Linked DNA regions of Homo sapiens: regions 1 and 2 are each linked to region 3. Evidence: promoter capture Hi-C in 16 types of primary human blood cells and fetal thymus (Javierre and others, 2016). All regions are on one chromosome and are shown on one strand. The core of a region is centred on a gene start or on the middle of the fragment in contact, and the rest is flanking DNA. Distances in the headings are between cores, read along the strand shown.

Region 1 (3,582 bases), core at 229-2,728, 610 kb before region 3:
GCCTCTGGAGTAGTTGGGACCACGGGCATACACCACCATGCCCATCTAATTTTTTTATTTTTTGTAGACATGGGGTTTTGACATGTTGTCCAGGCTGATCTTGAACTCCTGGGCTTAAGCAATCACCCAACTTGGGCCTCCCAAAGTGCTGGGATCACAGGTGTGAGCAACTGGGCCTGGCCTAGCATGCATTTTTAAAAATATTGATTCCATTCAATGAAATACAAAACAGTGGGATAGGCCTTAAGCTTCAGTTTATGAGCTGTAGGGGAAAACAAGATTAACATTATCTGCCTTCCTTTGTTAGGATACTAATTTCTCACTAGGTTTGGCTACCAGTGTTTTTTAGGTTGCTTCACATCTCTCAAATATGACTCAAACTAATGAAAAGAAGGAAAACAATGTCAAAAAGCCACTAGGCAATGGAATCAGATACTGTCTATATTGGTTGGGAACAGGAAGATGACTCGATGGCCCACCCACCCCCCAAAAAAGCAGCCACTTAAAATTCAAGACCAATACGATCTCAGGCAACACGGACACTGTTCACAGAAGGCACTAAAAGCATGGTGCGCCCTTACCACCTCTCTAACCCCAGGCACTGAGAGCCTGCTCTCACTCAACATGCCCTCCCTAGCCGCAGAGTCCGCGCTCGCTCCACTCAAAGCAAACAGTGAGCTGTCTTGCCCACAGTGAACTCCGCACACAGGCCACTTGCGCACAGCACGCTCCCAGCAACACCTGGCCAGGCCCCTGCTCGCCCAGCCCAGCCCAGGCCAGCCCAGCCCATGGGGCACAGCAGACGCACTGCAACCCTTACCGCGGGTACTGTCCAAGCCCTAATGAACACCCTACTCACCAAGGCACCAAGGGAACACAGGGCAAACTCTCACCACGGGCACAGCACGGGCTCTAGCAACAATCCCACGCACCTGTGCACTCCAGAGCAAGCCCTCACCTGGGGCGCCCAGTAAGCCCTCCCCTTGCTGACTGGGCTCAATCCCGAAAACACGATTCACGCTTCTTTTGGGAACGCAGCCAGATCCTGCGTAAATGTCGGCCGCGCACACGATGCCACCAAACAAGCTTCTGCGTGGTTCCCGCATCCCCCGCCACATACCCCCGGGATCTGAGCACGGCACCCCTCGGAGAACCCTGGCCTCGCTCTCTATCCCAAGCAGGCACGACGTGCAGTGAGCTTCGCCCCGCGCCTCCTGCCCGACTGACTGAGCAGAGCTCTAGCCTCGCCGCGGACGCGCGAATCCACCCCGGGGTCCTACCGGAGAAGGAGGACAGCAGCAACACCAGGGCCGCCAGAAGCAACCCAGGAAAGCGCCGGGAAGGAAAGGGACGCTCGAGACGGACGGGAGGCGCCATGAGCGGCGCGGGAGACCCCGTGATTTATCCGGAGGTGAGCAGAGAAACCGAAAGCCAGCCGAGCAGGGAAGTCCCTTCTGAGTCCGGTTAGTGGACACAACAATCCCCAAACTCACAGTTTCCAGGGCCGCATGACAGGTGGGCGTGGCCTGGGCGCGTAGTGTGAAATTGAGTCTTAGCGCCGGGGCGGCTGGGGCCAATCGGCGGGCCGCGGGGCGGGGCCTCGGCGCGCAGGGGCAGCCCGTTGGCCTTCGAGGAGACAGGGCGTGTCCAGAGCCCTGGCAGGGGGTTATCGTGGGCTAGCACCCCTCAGGGTTAGTTTTATCCTGGGGCACTGCAGGCTGTCAGGACTGCCTGGGCCCTTACTTGGTATTTGGCATTAGTCAGGCATTATTGGGAACAATATTTGAGTTTTTCTTGCTTGAATGCCTGCTACTGAATCGTCTCGGCGCCGTCTTCTTTTCACAGTCTCAAAGGTTTGGCTTCTGCACTCCCAGCCCCTAAGATAATTTGCCCTTTGCTCCCCTCCCTGGAGAGGACCCGTCAGAATCTAAATTATTAAGCAACACCAGGCCGTTAGCATATTGAGACTCTATGGGACCCTTGCCCTTGAGCAACTAAATGTTTTATTGAAGACGAAATATACATGCATGAACAATGTAAGGACAAGGGTGTCCTAAGTGCCAAATTCCTGGAAGCAATAAATGCAGGAGGATTGGGATGGGTAGAAATTGTTAGGCGAAGTGGATAAGGGGGAGAACTTTTCTGGTGAAACAATCTCAGGAACAATGTTGGAAAATTAAGAATGAGCAGGATTGATTTGTAGGGTTCTGAGTAAGCCAGTATGACTGGTAAAAGGGGGAAAAAAAAAGGGAACATGACTGGCATTAAAAGAGCAAACAAAAAAAGTTGACATCTCTTCCCCTCAGATTGGCAAAGAATTAAAACGTCAGCCAATGTGAGTGAACATGTTGCAGGGGGACCAGCACTCTGTTTGTAACATAACTTTTCAGAATGTTAAAAGTCTTAAAGTGGAAATGACTTGTGTTAGGCTCTCAGTTCCCAGAGAAATCATCAGAGCTGTGATCAAAGATTTATAATTTTTGTAAAAAATGTAAACCCTAAGTGTCTAGCAAAAGTAATAAGGAGGCAGTTACCTTTGTGTGATGGAATTCTATGCAGCAAGTATTGCAAAAGAATACCAAATGTGAGAAACTATGATATCATTGTAAGTGGAAAAAGCAGAGTCCAAATTGGCATGTGCATTTTGGCAGTCCTTTTATTAAAACAAAAATGCTATATATATATATATATATATACATACACTAATTTGGAACACAACAAAATTAACAATGGTTAAGATTATAGATATTTCACTTTCCTTGTGCTTTTCAGTTTTCTTTTTCTATGTTGACCCTATGTTACATTTAGAATAAGGTAAAGAAAATGTATTTTAAAAATCAAATCTATGTATCAATTGTTGTTTTGTTCATAGAATTATGGGAGTAGAACTTGTATTACACAGGGTTTGTATGAGAGGATAGTGAGGAATTAGATGCTTAGTGTATAAACCTAAAATGGGTCTTATGGAATTATAGAGTTTAAATGTATTTAATACAGTTCTATAACTGAGATGTACTGAAGACTTTCTGGGTTCACCAAACCACGGAATTTCCTCTTCCCAAACATTTTCAAATTTTTGGCATAGAATACAAGACATTGAGTCTGGTGGTATATCAAATAAACATCTTAGTATCTTGGATTATAAAATTCAGACACTCTATGACAGTAATTAAAGGAGGTATAATTAAGGGGATAGTAAATAGGAAACTCAATGAGGAGAAATTATTATTCCTGTTAATGTATGGTGTGAAAGAGCAATATGACAGACATGTTCTGTGGCTCAATGCCAGCACTTATTTGTGAAAGCAGATAGTCTATTTATTTTTCTCCACATCAATAGATATTAAAAATTCTCCATTTATTTTCAGGCTTGGAAGAAAGATACCTTTTTCTCATGAGAAAAATTATTATAAAGAATAGAAGAAAAAATATGGCTAGTGTTTGATTTCCTAGTTTCAGGTGTCAGATTAGATTCAAAGATCGGTATTTTATTGAAACTTTCTTTCAATCAGTAAAATTTCCATCCCTGGGGTTAATCAAGCCATTCTTAATATACTCGAAGACTTTCACATTAAATTTATA
Region 2 (3,316 bases), core at 704-3,203, 530 kb before region 3:
TCCTGTGTCAGCCCTTCATCAGGATCCTGGGGACACAGCGCTGAGGAAGGAGCCTACATTCTTAGGAAATATTTCTCAAATGTATATATGTGTGCTAATCATCTTAAATAGGTGAAACCTTTCACTGATTACTTATTGATATTGATCATCAATCTCAGTGATAACAATAGCCCTGTCACAGTGAATTGAAACATAGTCAGGCCATGATAAAAAAAAAAAAAAAACTCCAAATGGATTCAGATGGCTTTGCTTTTGAAAATGTCTAGGTCTGTTGATGATTTATTTTCTCTTTTTACTCTCTGGGTCAGGTTTCAAGTTGTTACTCCTTTCTAGCATCTAATGATTTGTTTAGAACAGTCTCTTCCTCATTTCTAATTGGCATTTTTCATTAGAACTGGCATTTGGAAGAAACTATTTTAACTAGCAAGAGTTATGAAAAATAAGAGAAAGCTTGAGTAGTCCAGTTAATGAGCTTTCATTCATGATAGTAGAACAGACACTTGTCATACTGCTTCAAGGAGCACTGGATTTCTTAGACAGCAAGAATCTCTATATAAGTTATGTTCTTCCAAAATTTTACTCTAAAAATCACTGTAAGATGTCCAAGTATATTTCTAACAACATAAACATTTTAGTAAAATTTCATGATTTTCTAAAGAAACACGTTTTCCAATCATTAGAATCAAGAATTGAAGCAAAGTTCTATCTTCCATTGGGGAAATTATACATGGGTAGACTAGGAGAAATCAGTAGTCTACTGATTATTGAACATATGAGGCTCATTTTAAAAAAATGACTTATTATTTATGAATCTCTCAGCATAAATTATTTAGGTACATGTTTTGAGAATTTAAGGAGTCTCAAACTGCTCACCCTGTCTAATGTTGCTCCCCATTTTTGCCTCATTCCTCAGTGCTTTGCTCTATTGTCTCATAGCATTGAATTTATTTTTTTTCTTGTCCCTCTCCCCACCTAAGTAGAAACAACATGGGGACAGGGAATTCATCCATCTTGTTCATTGATATAACTCCAGTGGCTAGATGAACATCAGGCACAAAGTATGTGATCAATAAATATTGATTAAATAAAGCCATGTTCAATATTTGTGTATTATCATATATATATAAATTGTAGACTGACTGCACTTTGATGGGAGAACAAAATGAAAAAGAAAGAAGGGAGGAAGGAAAGAAGAAAGGGGAGAAGGAGAGAAGAAGGGAAGAAAGAACTGAAGGATGGAAGGAAGAGAAAAAAGAAAGAAAAAACTAGAGAAAGAAAGAAAATTGTTAAAGCTTCACATTATCTAATCTCTCCTGACCTAGGAGCACAAGACCAAAGGATTTATCGCACTAGAACAGAGAATGCAGAAGGACAGAGACAGATCAGATGGTTGCAAAGACAGGTGATGTACATATTGATTCACAACCAAACATTATTAAAATAAACTATTTTTAAATCGATAATTAAGACTAGAATATTGAAGAATCACATTGAGGGAGGCCATAGGACAAATAGTGAACAGATGAAGGGGAGAGATTGGCCTGAAATGTTGCTCCTATTACTCACGTTCACACACTGGAACACTGCTATTCCAAAGGCTTTCCATTCCAGCCAAGACACAATAACTAGCAGAGCTGCCTTTTAATTGAAATCTAAAGAAGAAAATAGGAGTGAATAGTGAGCTGTTTCAGCCAAGAGGACACTTAGTTCACAATCTAAGGCCCAGCCCCAATTTCAGGATTTTGAGGATCTGAGGCCAGCAGATGGCAGAGTTGCACAGGCTACCTTATTCTGGAAAAATCACAGCCTCCAGAAGGGAACAATATAGAATGGCAAAATGTAGTAGCTTGGTCACATGATAGTCCTGCTTGAATTGAAAAAGGTGGTCATGACATAGGCGCCATCCCCTTGACCCAGGACCCAGGCTTGGAGTTTCACTGATTACTCCATGATAACCTGATAAATCACTCATTGTTGTTATTAGAAACCCAGTCTTCTAATGTAATGCCTTCCTAACTCTGACCCTGGAACAGCAAGTAAAACAGCTCCCAGTTTGGAGTGGAAAAGTGGGAAATAGCTGGCGAGAGAACAGAGATTGTCCTTTCATCTCCACATCTGTGATGGCGTGAAGAAGGCTCAAAAGGGCAGTTTGGGCTGCTGAAGAGTAAGCATGAATATTCTAGGGGAAAAAGGAAAGAAGAGAGGACATGATTTTTGTATGCAATTGTCGAAAATTCTCAGTCTTTTGGACCCTGATGCCCTCCTAACTCTTACTGGGTGCTGGCATTTGGAGGCTGCCAAGATTCTGTGTTACATTATGGGATCAGGTGCTTTGTTGCCCATGCCGGTCAGCTCCTGTGTAGAGATGTGCACGCTGTGAAGAGCACTAGATGGACATAAACAAGGTAATGACCTTGCTGGGAATATTAACAGCAGCCATCACGACCCCAGCTCAGAGCCCAGAGCCCATGACTAGCCAGAAGATATATGACTGAATTTTTAAAAAAATGCTGATTTTTACATTTTCAGTCCTATTACAAATTTCACTGTTGATGGTTTAAAGAATTTACTGAAATGATTCTTAAAGGATCCTAGCTTTTAATAATAAGCTTTTCATTACTTGCAATTTTTCCTGGGACTCTCTAAATTACTCATATTCCCTTTTGCTTGTAAAATATGATTTTTTTCCTGAGATGGAGTTTCACTCATTGTTCACGCTGGAGTGCAATGGTGCCATCTCGGCTCACTGCAAACTCCACCTCCCAGGTTCAAGTGATTCTGGTGCCTCAGCCTCCGGAGTAGCTGGGATTACAGGCACATGCCACCAAACCCAGCTAACTTTTGTATTTTTAGTAGAGACAGGGTTTCACCATGTTGTCCAGGCTGGTCTCCAACTCCTGACCTCAGGTGATCTGCCTGCCTCAACCTCCCAAAGGTGCTGGGATTACACACGTGAGCCACCGTGCCTGGCTGATATTTTTTGCTTAATGTGTTACCTATATATTCATAACCACTAGTTATACTTGCCTTTGAACTTGCCAGTTAATATATGTTCCAGTTTCCTCTTCATATCTCATGTTATTAGTTCTATATGTTTCTTTCCTTTCTTCCTAGGTATACTTTCGAAAGTTCATCTCTCTGAAGGTGTGTGTGTGTGTGTGTGTCTTTCTTTTAAGCCACACCAAATCTCCCCTTTTTAGACTGATTCCCAACCCCAATTTCAATGTCCAGCAGGTCAGGCAAGCTCATACTCACCCTTCATCACAAACAAAATCCACTTTTGCTCCAAGCTGGAGATTTACTGGAAATAGCACAC
Region 3 (3,530 bases), core at 387-2,886:
TCCTGTTTTGTTAGTATTATGACATCATATATGTTTGAATGACACACCAGGGAAAGAGGTCATAGCCCGAAGTGCTCATTCAGCTGTGATATCCATAGGCTGCTGATAGGGTACTGGGTTATCCCAGGCTTCCTCCAACCTCCTTCCTATCCATTAGTCCTGCTCCACTTCATCTTTACCTTGGCCCCAGGATCACTGCCCTTTTTATTTCCTATCCAACCATGATCACAGAAAGAGAAAAGATGAAAGCCATGTGTCGTCTTGTTATAAAACATATTAATAGCTTTAAGTAGGAAATGAAACAGAAAAGGACGAATCTAATAGCTAGAATTACACTTGCAAATTATCTGTGTATTTCATGATTCCCACTTGAGATTCCTTCCAAAATAGAGGCGGATTGGCATTATGCTGATTCATAGCAACCTTGATGTTATACTGCCTGAATTAAAATCTCTGCCCTGCCTCTTCCTAGCTACATGGCCTTGAAAAAGATTTTTAACCTCCCTGTAAAATTTAGATATTAACAAATGCCTACTTTTTTAAGTTAAAGACTAAATTAAAAGATACATGAAAATGCTCAGCACAATACCTAGCAAATAGCAAGAGCTTAATACATTTTGGCAATTATTGTGTACATTGATTTTAAATTTTCTCCCTGACCTTTTAATGCTAGTAAGTGGAATACCTCAAATCCTGATACCTATCAAGGATAATCTACCTGTAGGAAAAACCAGCTTCCAGGCAAAAATCATATCTGTTAAGAGTGGTCTCTGTACCTGGTGGGAAATTTCTTCCCAAAAATAGTAGATTCTTCTACCTACTCTCTTCTCCCTACGAATGCCAAGTATCAGTCCATGAAAGGAGACAAGAGTTGCTAAACTGGTTGGTAGTTTGTTTTGTTTTTATTTCATAATATGTATTGCCACCTTCCATGAACAGCCAAAAGAGAGCAGAGGACCAAATGACAGAGTGCATGCTCTCTCCTTTCAAGCTGTCCAGTCACTCTTTCATCAGGACACGGACCTCTTAGGGGATGAATGGTTTTATTTCCCCCAGAAATAAATTAGGCCAAGGAGATTGTTGGCAAGCACTGGGGCGAGACTGGCCCAACTACAGCATCCCTAGCCTGGGGACACCTTCTTCAGTGGACATGAATGGAATTGCTAGGCTTATGAGCTAGGATTAGGCTTGGGGAAGAAAGTGACTTTCAACATCTAGAAAAGCTAGCAGCAAAACTGAACACAAATGAGTTTAGCCTAGAGAATTCAGGGGAAAACTAAGCTCCAAGCGGAAGAAGGTAGTTCTAGATGAAAAACCTGTTTCACATAGACCTATGGAAAAGCACACTGCCCAGAGGACTGTCTGCGTTCCTTTATATCAACATTAAATATATATACTATCTCTGCCTACTCCCTCCCTGCCACCTGTCCTTCCAGTCTCAGCCCAAACCGGCTCCTCCTCCTTCCAGCCCTCCTTTTTTAAAGAGCTCTTTATTAGCTCTAAACAGGAAAGGGGAGGGTAGGAGATGATTGGCTAAGAGGGAACAGCACCACCCTGCTCATTCCCCTCCCATTCCCTCCCTGAGGAAACAGCTGGAATGAGAGGTAGGGAGGGGAGGCTAGGATTGGCTGAGTCAGTGGCAGGGTGGGGGCCAGGCAGCACAGATGAAGCATTTACCTATCTAGGTAAGTCAGGAGGAGCTCAAAAGGAGAAGAAAACAGTAGGAGGCAGGGGAAGCAGCCTCTGTCTCCATCTCTGCCCTTTGAAACAAAAGGGTATTTCTTTTCTCTCTTCAGCCCCCAACCCAGTGGAGGTGAGTTAATCACTAACCAACTATTGCTTATCCTATAGCAATAGGAAGGGGTTTCATGGGAAATCAGAGCTACAGGGGAGGGGAGGTGTCCCTCTATACCCCAGCTAGGGAGATTTCCTCTCTGTTCCTCAATTCTCTGAGTCCATTCTGGGATCAGATCAGGTTGGTAGCAACTTGAGATTGTAGTGTTTTTGTGGAGACTGGGGCTGGGAGGCACCTTCTTTTTCATTTATCCCTTTAGGTTGGATAGGCATATTGTGCAAACAACAAGAAAAAGAAAATAGATTTGTTTTGGAAATTTCCATCTCTGAACAATTGAAATTGAGTTGTGATTTTAGAAAAGAACAGTTGAAATAGAGGGAGTCAAAATGGGGGAGAGTATCTTGGTTTTCCATAGCGACTGTAACAGGAAATTCTCCCGTGGCTTTACCAACTCGGTGTCGATCTTTATTTAAATAATGGGTGCAATGTGTGTGTGTGTTTGATCATGCTCATGTGATAATGGAGCTCTCTGTGTACAGGTGTGTTAGGCATGAGCTGTACTAGGTTGTTTGTAAAGGGATATGAGGTTGGGGCACATGGAGAAAACTTCAGCTACCAGCTCATCTTTGGAAAACCCATGGATAATCTAGCTGCAAAGTCAAGTTTATTTGGATTCTACTCAATTAACTTTCTGACTCAGCCTGTTAATAGACACAGAGACTGGCAAACAGAAAGCTACCTGGCTGTGCCGAGCCTCACCCACATGAATATTTCGTGGCTGCATGTCAAGTCTAGTTAGAGTTCCAAGTGGGGCTCAAGCCAAGGTAGTGTGGCAGAGTCCACAGACAGAGAAGCAGACCAGGGTGGTGGCTTTGTTTGTTTTCCTGCAGGTGTCCCAGTTGGCAGTTTGTGTGGCAGATTTACCTGCAGAAGGAAGGCAGATGTAGGAGTCGAGTCAGAGTAGCAAGTTGCCTCTCCATTATCCATCTTGGGGGGTTTAACCCTTTGGTCCCTAACTTTGACTCTTTTCCTCCTGCTGCAGAGAAGAGGGAAGTGGGAAGCCCTCAGTGCCAGGCTCAAGGGCCTGGCACACGCAGCCCTGAGTGAATATATGGGTTTTCCAGTCCTGGCAACTGGAGATTTAGGCTTGAGCTCACCTCACACCACAGAGCCAACACCCCACACTCACAGACTGAGGGCTGCCCTAGATGGTGAATTTAGGAATAAAGACCACTGGCAGTGTCTAACAAAGCTCTGCTATGCAGAGGGTATTTCTACCTGCTCCTTCCCTCAAACACACTGGTGAAAGGGAAGATGATAATGTTGCCTAAACACACACAGAAACTTGCCCATGTGTTCATGGAGACAGATATGCAAACTGTGCAAGTTTTAGTCATTCTGCTATTTTTCTTAGGATATTTTCCAGCCCAAGGCACATTTCTGGGTAGTCAACAAGAAGCAAAGACACCTGGATTGAAAGACAGGAAACCTCTTTGACTAGTAGGCAGAGAGGCAAAGCTCTTGGAGGACATGTGGGGGGTTCGTGGGAGGAGGATGAGAGGGACCTGGGTCTGATTAGAAGGTACAGACAAGCCAACCTGGAATGGAGCTGGAGCCCTCTCCCCACCCCACCATCTCCAGATGCCAGAACTTGAACTGTTCTTTATTTCCTCTCCTCCAAGGCTTGGCAGTATTTAGTATTTTAGTCAGTGGTGTAGTTAATATTTAATGTGTC

Evidence for each region. The method cuts DNA at HindIII sites, captures the fragments that hold promoters and counts their contacts. A CHiCAGO score of 5 or more calls a contact.
Region 1: a contact is called between the fragment with the promoter of CR1L here and the fragment with the promoter of C1orf116 in region 3, in 11 of 17 cell types (neutrophils, total B cells, megakaryocytes and 8 more). The highest score is 12.6, in neutrophils.
Region 2: a contact is called between a fragment that was not itself captured here and the fragment with the promoter of C1orf116 in region 3, in 4 of 17 cell types (naive B cells, total B cells, endothelial precursors and 1 more). The highest score is 5.2, in naive B cells.

What each region holds. Positions count from the first base shown.
Region 1 is chr1:207,643,029-207,646,610 of GRCh38, reverse strand. It overlaps CR1L (complement C3b/C4b receptor 1 like), which reads right to left and starts at 1,478. Exons shown (of 12, transcript NM_175710.2): 1 at 1,281-1,478. The coding sequence starts at 1,377. It also overlaps the pseudogene CD46P1. RefSeq lists an enhancer at 1,369-1,448 and a silencer at 1,509-1,678. The HindIII fragment of the contact is 2,525 bases long and covers 1,089-3,582 here.
Region 2 is chr1:207,564,174-207,567,489 of GRCh38, reverse strand. It overlaps CR1 (complement C3b/C4b receptor 1 (Knops blood group)), which reads right to left. Exons shown (of 47, transcript NM_000651.6): 23 at 3,256-3,316; 24 at 1,567-1,652. Among named protein-coding and RNA genes, the nearest start is that of CR1, 70 kb to the right of the region's middle. The HindIII fragment of the contact is 1,317 bases long and covers 1,295-2,611 here.
Region 3 is chr1:207,030,862-207,034,391 of GRCh38, reverse strand. C1orf116 (chromosome 1 open reading frame 116) reads left to right here and starts at 1,636. Exons shown (of 4, transcript NM_023938.6): 1 at 1,636-1,813. The HindIII fragment of the contact is 5,727 bases long and covers 1-3,530 here.